Linked DNA regions of Homo sapiens: region 2 is linked to region 1. Evidence: promoter capture Hi-C in human tissues and cell types (Jung and others, 2019). All regions are on one chromosome and are shown on one strand. The core of a region is centred on a gene start or on the middle of the fragment in contact, and the rest is flanking DNA. Distances in the headings are between cores, read along the strand shown. Region 1 holds the start of STXBP3 (syntaxin binding protein 3). Region 2 holds the start of LOC105378891 (a long non-coding RNA gene).

The links. Contacts are between HindIII fragments. The study calls those that stand out against the background at their distance.
Region 2: a fragment that was not itself captured here is called in contact with the fragment with the promoter of STXBP3 in region 1 in 2 of the 25 tissues and cell types used here (aorta and hippocampus).

Annotation. Positions count from the first base shown.
Region 1 is chr1:108,745,219-108,748,496 of GRCh38, reverse strand. STXBP3 (syntaxin binding protein 3) reads right to left here and starts at 1,823. Exons shown (of 19, transcript NM_007269.4): 1 at 1,711-1,823. The coding sequence starts at 1,759. RefSeq lists a silencer at 1,322-1,441 and enhancers at 1,642-2,051, 1,574-2,144. The HindIII fragment of the contact is 8,912 bases long and covers 1-3,278 here.
Region 2 is chr1:108,813,146-108,816,637 of GRCh38, reverse strand. AKNAD1 (AKNA domain containing 1) reads left to right here. Exons shown (of 16, transcript NM_152763.5): 16 at 336-737. The coding sequence ends at 467. LOC105378891 (a long non-coding RNA gene) reads right to left here and starts at 3,048. Exons shown (of 5, transcript XR_947687.3): 1 at 2,996-3,048. The HindIII fragment of the contact is 4,821 bases long and covers 1-3,492 here.

The DNA of each region.
Region 1 (3,278 bases), core at 574-3,073:
AGGCTGGAGTGCGGTGGCACAATCAATGTCCACTGCAGCCTCAGCCTCCTGGGCTGAAGGGATCCTCCTGCCTCAGCCTCCCATGTAGGTGGGAACACAGGTGCATGTCACCAAACATGGTTAATTTTAAAATTTTTTTGTAGAGATGGGGTCTCACTTTGTTGCCCACTCCTAGGCTCAGGTGATCATCTTGCCCCGGCCTCCCAAAGTGTTGGGATTACAGGCGTGAACCACTGCACCTGGCCATAATTTTTTCTTTTCTTTTCTGCTATCAAAATTTTTTGCCACCTCAAGGTATTTAAAAAGCAATTTAAAATGTTAATTACGAGATTGTGAAGCAACATGAAAAATGTTGAGTCAATGTCAGTTGTTTAAAAAAAAGGAAGTCACAGAATGACAGATAATAAAAACAATGTCTTTATCTGTATGAGGATCAGAAGGAAAATGTGAAAAAGGGAAAAGCTTATGATTCAATATGTAAAGAACTGGCTTAAATACATACATGCGGATGTTAATCACATATATATCTTGGAAATTATACAACACAATTTGTTACCCATTTTCACATAAATGTATTTAAATACCATTGTTTTAAAACATCTCAAATCTTAAGTCAGCCATGTAAATCTTGAAAAAGCAAATGCCAACCTTAAAATTATCTAATCTTTTAAAAGATAATTTCATATTTTTCACCTATTTATACATTTGCTTAGTGCCTGCTATATGTTAAGCACTATCCCAGTTACTGATTTGGATTTTTAATTTTAGACAAGGAACTCTAACTCCCAGAATTCTGCTGACTAAATCATTTGTTTTTTGTTCAACAAGTTGGACTAAGAAATACTAATTAGATGCTACTCCCTTTCCACTACTAGGCCATAATTATCTTGAACTCAGAGATACCAAACAATGATGGTTATTCCTGTTGGGTGGTTTCATTCTTTCTCTAACCTGCCAGACCTAGGTTTGGAGCGATGTTTATGAAAGTTGTGGATGATACCGCAGAACATCAGTAACCAATAAGGAGTCCGGTCCTAACAGCAGGGAGGGGCCCCCGAGAGTAGGGAAAACGGAAGGAGCGGCTCTTGCCCAGGCTATGCAGGAAGATGTCACGGCTGGACACCGGTCATTCCAATGGTCTCTTCTCAAGAACTTTTCAGAAAGTAGGCTCCTCTCGGAATAGGGGAAGATGAGTCTGTTAAACAGTGAGGTTTTTTGAAAAGCACGGGTTGATACTAACACGAATAAGCAGAATAAACAGTCCTTGCAAACTCCAGTGTGGGGTGGAGATGGGGGCGGAATAAACAGCGCCCGAATTGTCTCGGATGGAGAGACATCCCCAACTGGTGGAGCGCGGACGGGAGCGGAGAAGAGTGGGGAGCGCGGCCGAGGGCACGCACGGGCTCCGCGGGAGGGAAAGCCGGGCCGGGCGGCTCACCCGGGGCGGAGCTTCGCGGCCAGAGCGCGGCCGAGGCGAGGGGGTGCCCGACGCCAACGAGAAGGCCGCGTCCCGTCGCACCCCGCCCATCCCTGGTGCTGGCAAGGAATAAGGCAGGGCAGGAAAGCAGGAAGAAGTCCTCACACAGGTCCCAAAGCAACAAGTGCTCGCGGCGGCTCCTCAACAGACCGCTGGGTTGGGGCTGCAAAACGAGGCCCGGCACGGCAGCCTCCCGGCCTTCCCTCTCTCAACCCCTACCCCACCGCACTCACTCTGCCACACGACGCTCTTTAGCCCCCTCTCTGCCACCGGCGGCGCCATCTTCCCGACACTGCGGAGCAGCAGCCACCACCTTCCACTCCCAACCTACTTTGGCCGCAGAAGCGGCGTTGGGGTGGCCCCGCCCCTTGCTGCAGGGGAATGCCCCACCCCCTCTAGCAGACCGCGCCCTCCGGTGACGTCACGCGCGTCAGCAAGGGAATTTCCGCCCACTCCCGGACGGAGGCTGCGCAGTACAGGTGGAACCTCCGTGGGAAGTCGGGAGCCCCCTAGCGGGAGGCTGCTGTCGCCCGAGGTTCGACGTCCTGTGGCCTAGGAACGCGAAGTGCCAAACCGATCGTGAGCCAAGGCCGTCTATGAAATTCCGAGTTCACACATACACGAAGACTGGAGGATCCTCCCCATTACAGAAGAACCCTTCACTTCGCAAGGCGATTCATAATAGACTTCACTCAGTAGCCAGCCCAACTACCCAATGGAAAATGTACTGTCCCCAAATGATTATTTCATTCATTTTTTCAAGGACACAGTAATTGCGTAGAACTGTGAGGTTCCCTCCAGTGTGCCAAGAACTGTGCTGGACTTTTAGGAAACTCAAAGAAATGAGAGATCAACTCTTTCCCCTGAATAATTTACAATCTAATTAAAGAGCACAATTCCTGGAATGCTGCAGGTAGTTAAAACTTAGTTTAAAAATTGAATGCCTTAATGATAAGATATACATAAATGAACCAACAAAAGAATAATCATTTATTAACAAATTTATGCAACAAATGTAGGGAGGGCCTGTTAATGCTTCAGAATCTACAATTATTGTTGAAAGTTGATTCACAGAGGAGGAGATCTGAGCTCAGAAAGTTTAGGTAGAGATCTGTTTACTGAGATGGTTCCTTTGGGACTTTAAATCAAAGTAATCAAACGTAAGTGAGATCAGTTTAGTTGCTAAGAGCCCTAACTGTGAGATAACCATGTGACATTGGCAGAAAGTAGGCTTTCCTAGAAGGATTTGCAAAGAACCAGTGGCTGTAAAGATTCAAATTGGTCACACAGGGAAGTAGAAGTGGTTAGATACTACTACTAATAATAATGTCTAATATTTACTGAGTGCTTACTTACCATATGCCAGGCACCATGCTAAGTAGATTACCTCACTGATCCTCAAAGCAACACTTACAACAAGGAAACTGAGGCTTAATGAAGTCAAGTAACTTGCCAAGGATGCACTTAGTGGTGGAGTGGGAACAAAGATCAGGCTTGGGCTACATGGAAAGCAATAGAGTAGTCTGTGGGGTAACCTGCAATTTTTAGGAGAGGAAAGGCAAATGAAGAATTAAGAACAGGCTGGGCATGGTGGCTCACACCTGTAATCCCAGCACTTTGGGAGGCCTAGGCAGGAGGACTGATAGAGGCCAGGAGTTTAAGACCAGCCTGGGCAACATAGCAAGACTGCTGTCTCCACCAAAAAAAAAAAAAAAATTAATAAAAAAGTTAGCTGGGCATGATGGCGCATGCTACCTGCAAGCTGAGGAGTCGTAGCTACTTGCGAGGCTGACGTAGGACG
Region 2 (3,492 bases), core at 211-2,710, 69 kb before region 1:
TATGGCCCCCCAATCCCCATCAATGGCCTCTAAGAGCTGTTCTTTTTTTCTCTTTCTCTGCGGCAGGGAAACAGCCCAGCTGGCGGCTGACCTCACCCTCTGATTCATGCTCATCAGTCACGTGCTGGTCTTTTTTTCAATCCCTTTCCCTAACAAATATATTCCATCTCAGACTGGTCTCCTAGGAAACCAACCCTCAAAAACAGAAATAGACCAAGAGGAAAACAGGAATACTCCCCAAATTCCACCTTGTAATGTTTAATAATGAGAGAACCCAAAGAACAGAAACAGCAGTTAGTTTATGTAATTAAAATGTGTGGACTTTTCCTCTGTAGATTTTAAACTCGGCTTTGGATCATGCCCTAAGGACAGCAACCATTTTGAAAGAAACTACAGATCAAATGATTAAAACGATTGCAGAAGACCTTGCTAAAGCACAGAGGTGGAGGAATCGACTGAAATACTAGTTCAACGCTAGGCTACCAAGGATTCAAAAGAAAAAAATGCAAAGAAAACTTGATCTTCCCCCAAAATGTATTTTACTTACTACACAATTTAGGAAGATGACTTTCTAGAGAAAACACAGAAACCATAAGAAATGGGTAACACAAAGTACTTAAAGGAAAAAGAAAAAAGAAAGGACTTCTGATTCTTAAAATCAAAAGCAACCAACAAGTATTTATTTTAAAATAAATCTATGTTCTTCTTAACTCATAATAAAAGAAATCAAAACAAAACAATGAATTTCCTTTTATCTATTAGTCTGAAAAAAGATTAAAGTTTGAAGAAACCCTGTGTCAGTGAGGATGGAGGGAAACTGGTACTCTCATATGCTGTTGGCAGAAATGCAACCTTTTTGGAAGACTATTTGGTAATATCTACCAAGTTCCACAAATTCCAAATCATGTACCTTCAGAGCAGCAATTCCACTTCTAGGAATTTCTTTTACATATAAGCCACACAATGTGGCATGATATATGTACAGGGAAGGGCACTGGAGCACTGATGGTAACAACCCCAAGGGGGAACTAATCTAAATACCCCCTGTGATGATTCATAAATGACAATACTTTGTGGCCACCGAAAAGAATGAGGTTGGATTATCTGCAAAAGTCAGTGAAAGAAGCAAGATGCCTAAGCATATATATAGAGAGTTGTAACCTCTGGGGTCTTTCTATGTTGCCCAGGCTGGACTTGAACTTCAAGCAATCCTCCCGCCTTAGCCTACTGAGTGGCTGGGACTACAGGCACACACCAATGTGCCTGGCTCTTCATTTGTGTATTTTTTTTAAAAGGGCATACGTATTTTCAGGAAAGATACCTAAAAATCTGAAGTGAACCTCTAGTAAAGGAAACTGGGAGTTTTGGGGGAGAAAGGGGTTTTTACCTTCTTTTCTGTACTATATGAAATTCTCACAATATACTTATAAGTCAAAATTATTTGTTTAAAGATCGCTTGAAGTCAGAAATATGTGAAAATAATAGCCTTAATGAAATTTTGGAAAAGACAATTCATTAAAACTGTGTACCAGAGATTAAGTACATTTTCATGCAGACCAGAGCAGGCTTTTTTTTTTTTCCTTCCAGATCAAGCTTTTGCTTTCCTTCTTTAAGAGTGATTTATTACCTCCTTAGTGACAGCACAGCAGGGTATTGGCTCTTTCCCCCTTCCCTGAAACTTCTGATTTTCATTCACCCTAGACATTCAACAAATGGTTTCCCAACTCCCAGAGTTTGGCTCAGTGGTCAGGAGGGAGTTGAATCTATTCCCACTTTAGATTTTCGTGCCAATGTGAGCAGCTGGTATTCGTCTAGCTGGCTGGAGAATGGACTGTTTTTAACTTTGGGGTTTGTAAATTGGTTTAGGGTGCCCTGGAAGAGATAATGCACAGGTCAGTCTGAAAATACCTCTGACTTTATGGCCAAATTTACTTCAGGCTGTGGCACTGTAAGGAAGATAGCAAGGAACCATGGCTGGTATTAGAAAAAACAGAGCTTAAACTGTGTATGTTCTATTAAATAAAACTTATGGGAGGTCATTTTTTTGGACTAAGCTCCTACAGGGGACCCCAACAGACCAGACCAAACTAGAATGGAGTCACTCATGCTAGGTGCCACGTAATCAAACTGAACTTTAAAATAGGTCAGTTTAAAAGAAAAAAAAAAGACCCAGAACATTCACAGTATCCCATTAGAAGGGGCCCCGTCAACCTGAGCTGGCATAAGGAAGTCCCCTCTGCTTTAACCCATATAAAGACACCTTTTGTTCCTTGTTTCCATTTTCTTCTGTTTTTTTCTGCCTATAAAGCCCACTCCTGTGCTCAGCCTTTCTATTTCATAGATAGGATGCTGCCTGATTCATAAATTGCTAATAAAAGCCAATTAGGTCATTAGACTTAATTTGTTGACATTTTGGTTTTTGGCAGTTCCAAGAGGCTTCCAGTATCATCACATATCTAAATTTAATCACAACTTGCTAATCTGTTTTGTATGTTAGTACCACTATCTCATCCCCAAGTTTAAAATCATATACTTCTCTGGCTTGAAGTGTTCTTATATGATTCATTAGTTCTTAACCTTTTTTGGGCTCATTTTTTGGGAATCTGGTGAAAGCTATGGAGTCTCCCTTCCCCCATGCTCTGCCTTCTCGTGGAAAAGAATACATTCATTTTTAAAAGTTCGTGGACACCATGAAACAAATCCATGGAACCTTGGTTAGAAACGTCTACCATTAACGAATATTTCTAAATCCCTCAAATTAACATTTATAGAAATTGGTAATTATAATCATTTTTGATTTAAAAATATGGCCCATTTCTGCTTTATCAAACCATATTCTAAATGTAATTTTCCATTTCCTTGAAGATTAGGGGTCATTATGAGCAATCACTGCAACACGACTAATCTAAGAAATAGCAAAAAAGGGCAGGCAATGCCCTTAAGGAGTTCCACAAAGACACTAGGCTCTGATTTACAAGGATAATTTTATACTTACTGATCCTGTAGTCTTGGCCATCTCCTCCCTCATGCAATTCTTGTGTCAATTCTAATGACCTCTCTTCTAATTCTGTTCGAGTAATAAACCAGAAAAACAAGCTTGTGAAGTAAAAGTAATGGTACCCCTAATGCTGGCATCAAGGGACTCAGCATTGCCTGAGGGCTGTAAAGAAACACCTGGCAGTCTCCAGGGTGCACAGGCCTCTCAGTATTTACTCCAAGGTCTAGCTGTGCTCTGGCCGCTGGAAGCTGCCAGCAGGATGCAATGGGACTGTCTATAGAGGGCTTTTTATCATCTTTTTATTATTTTTTTTTATTTTTATTTTTTTTGAGACGGAGTCTCACTCTGTCGCCCAGGCTGGAGTGCAATTGCGGGATCTCGGCTCACTGCAATCTCTGCCTCCCAGGTTCAAGTGATTCTCCTGCCTCAGCCTCCCGAGGGATTATAGGCACCCACCACCACACCCAGCTAATTTTTGTATTTTTAGTAGAGAT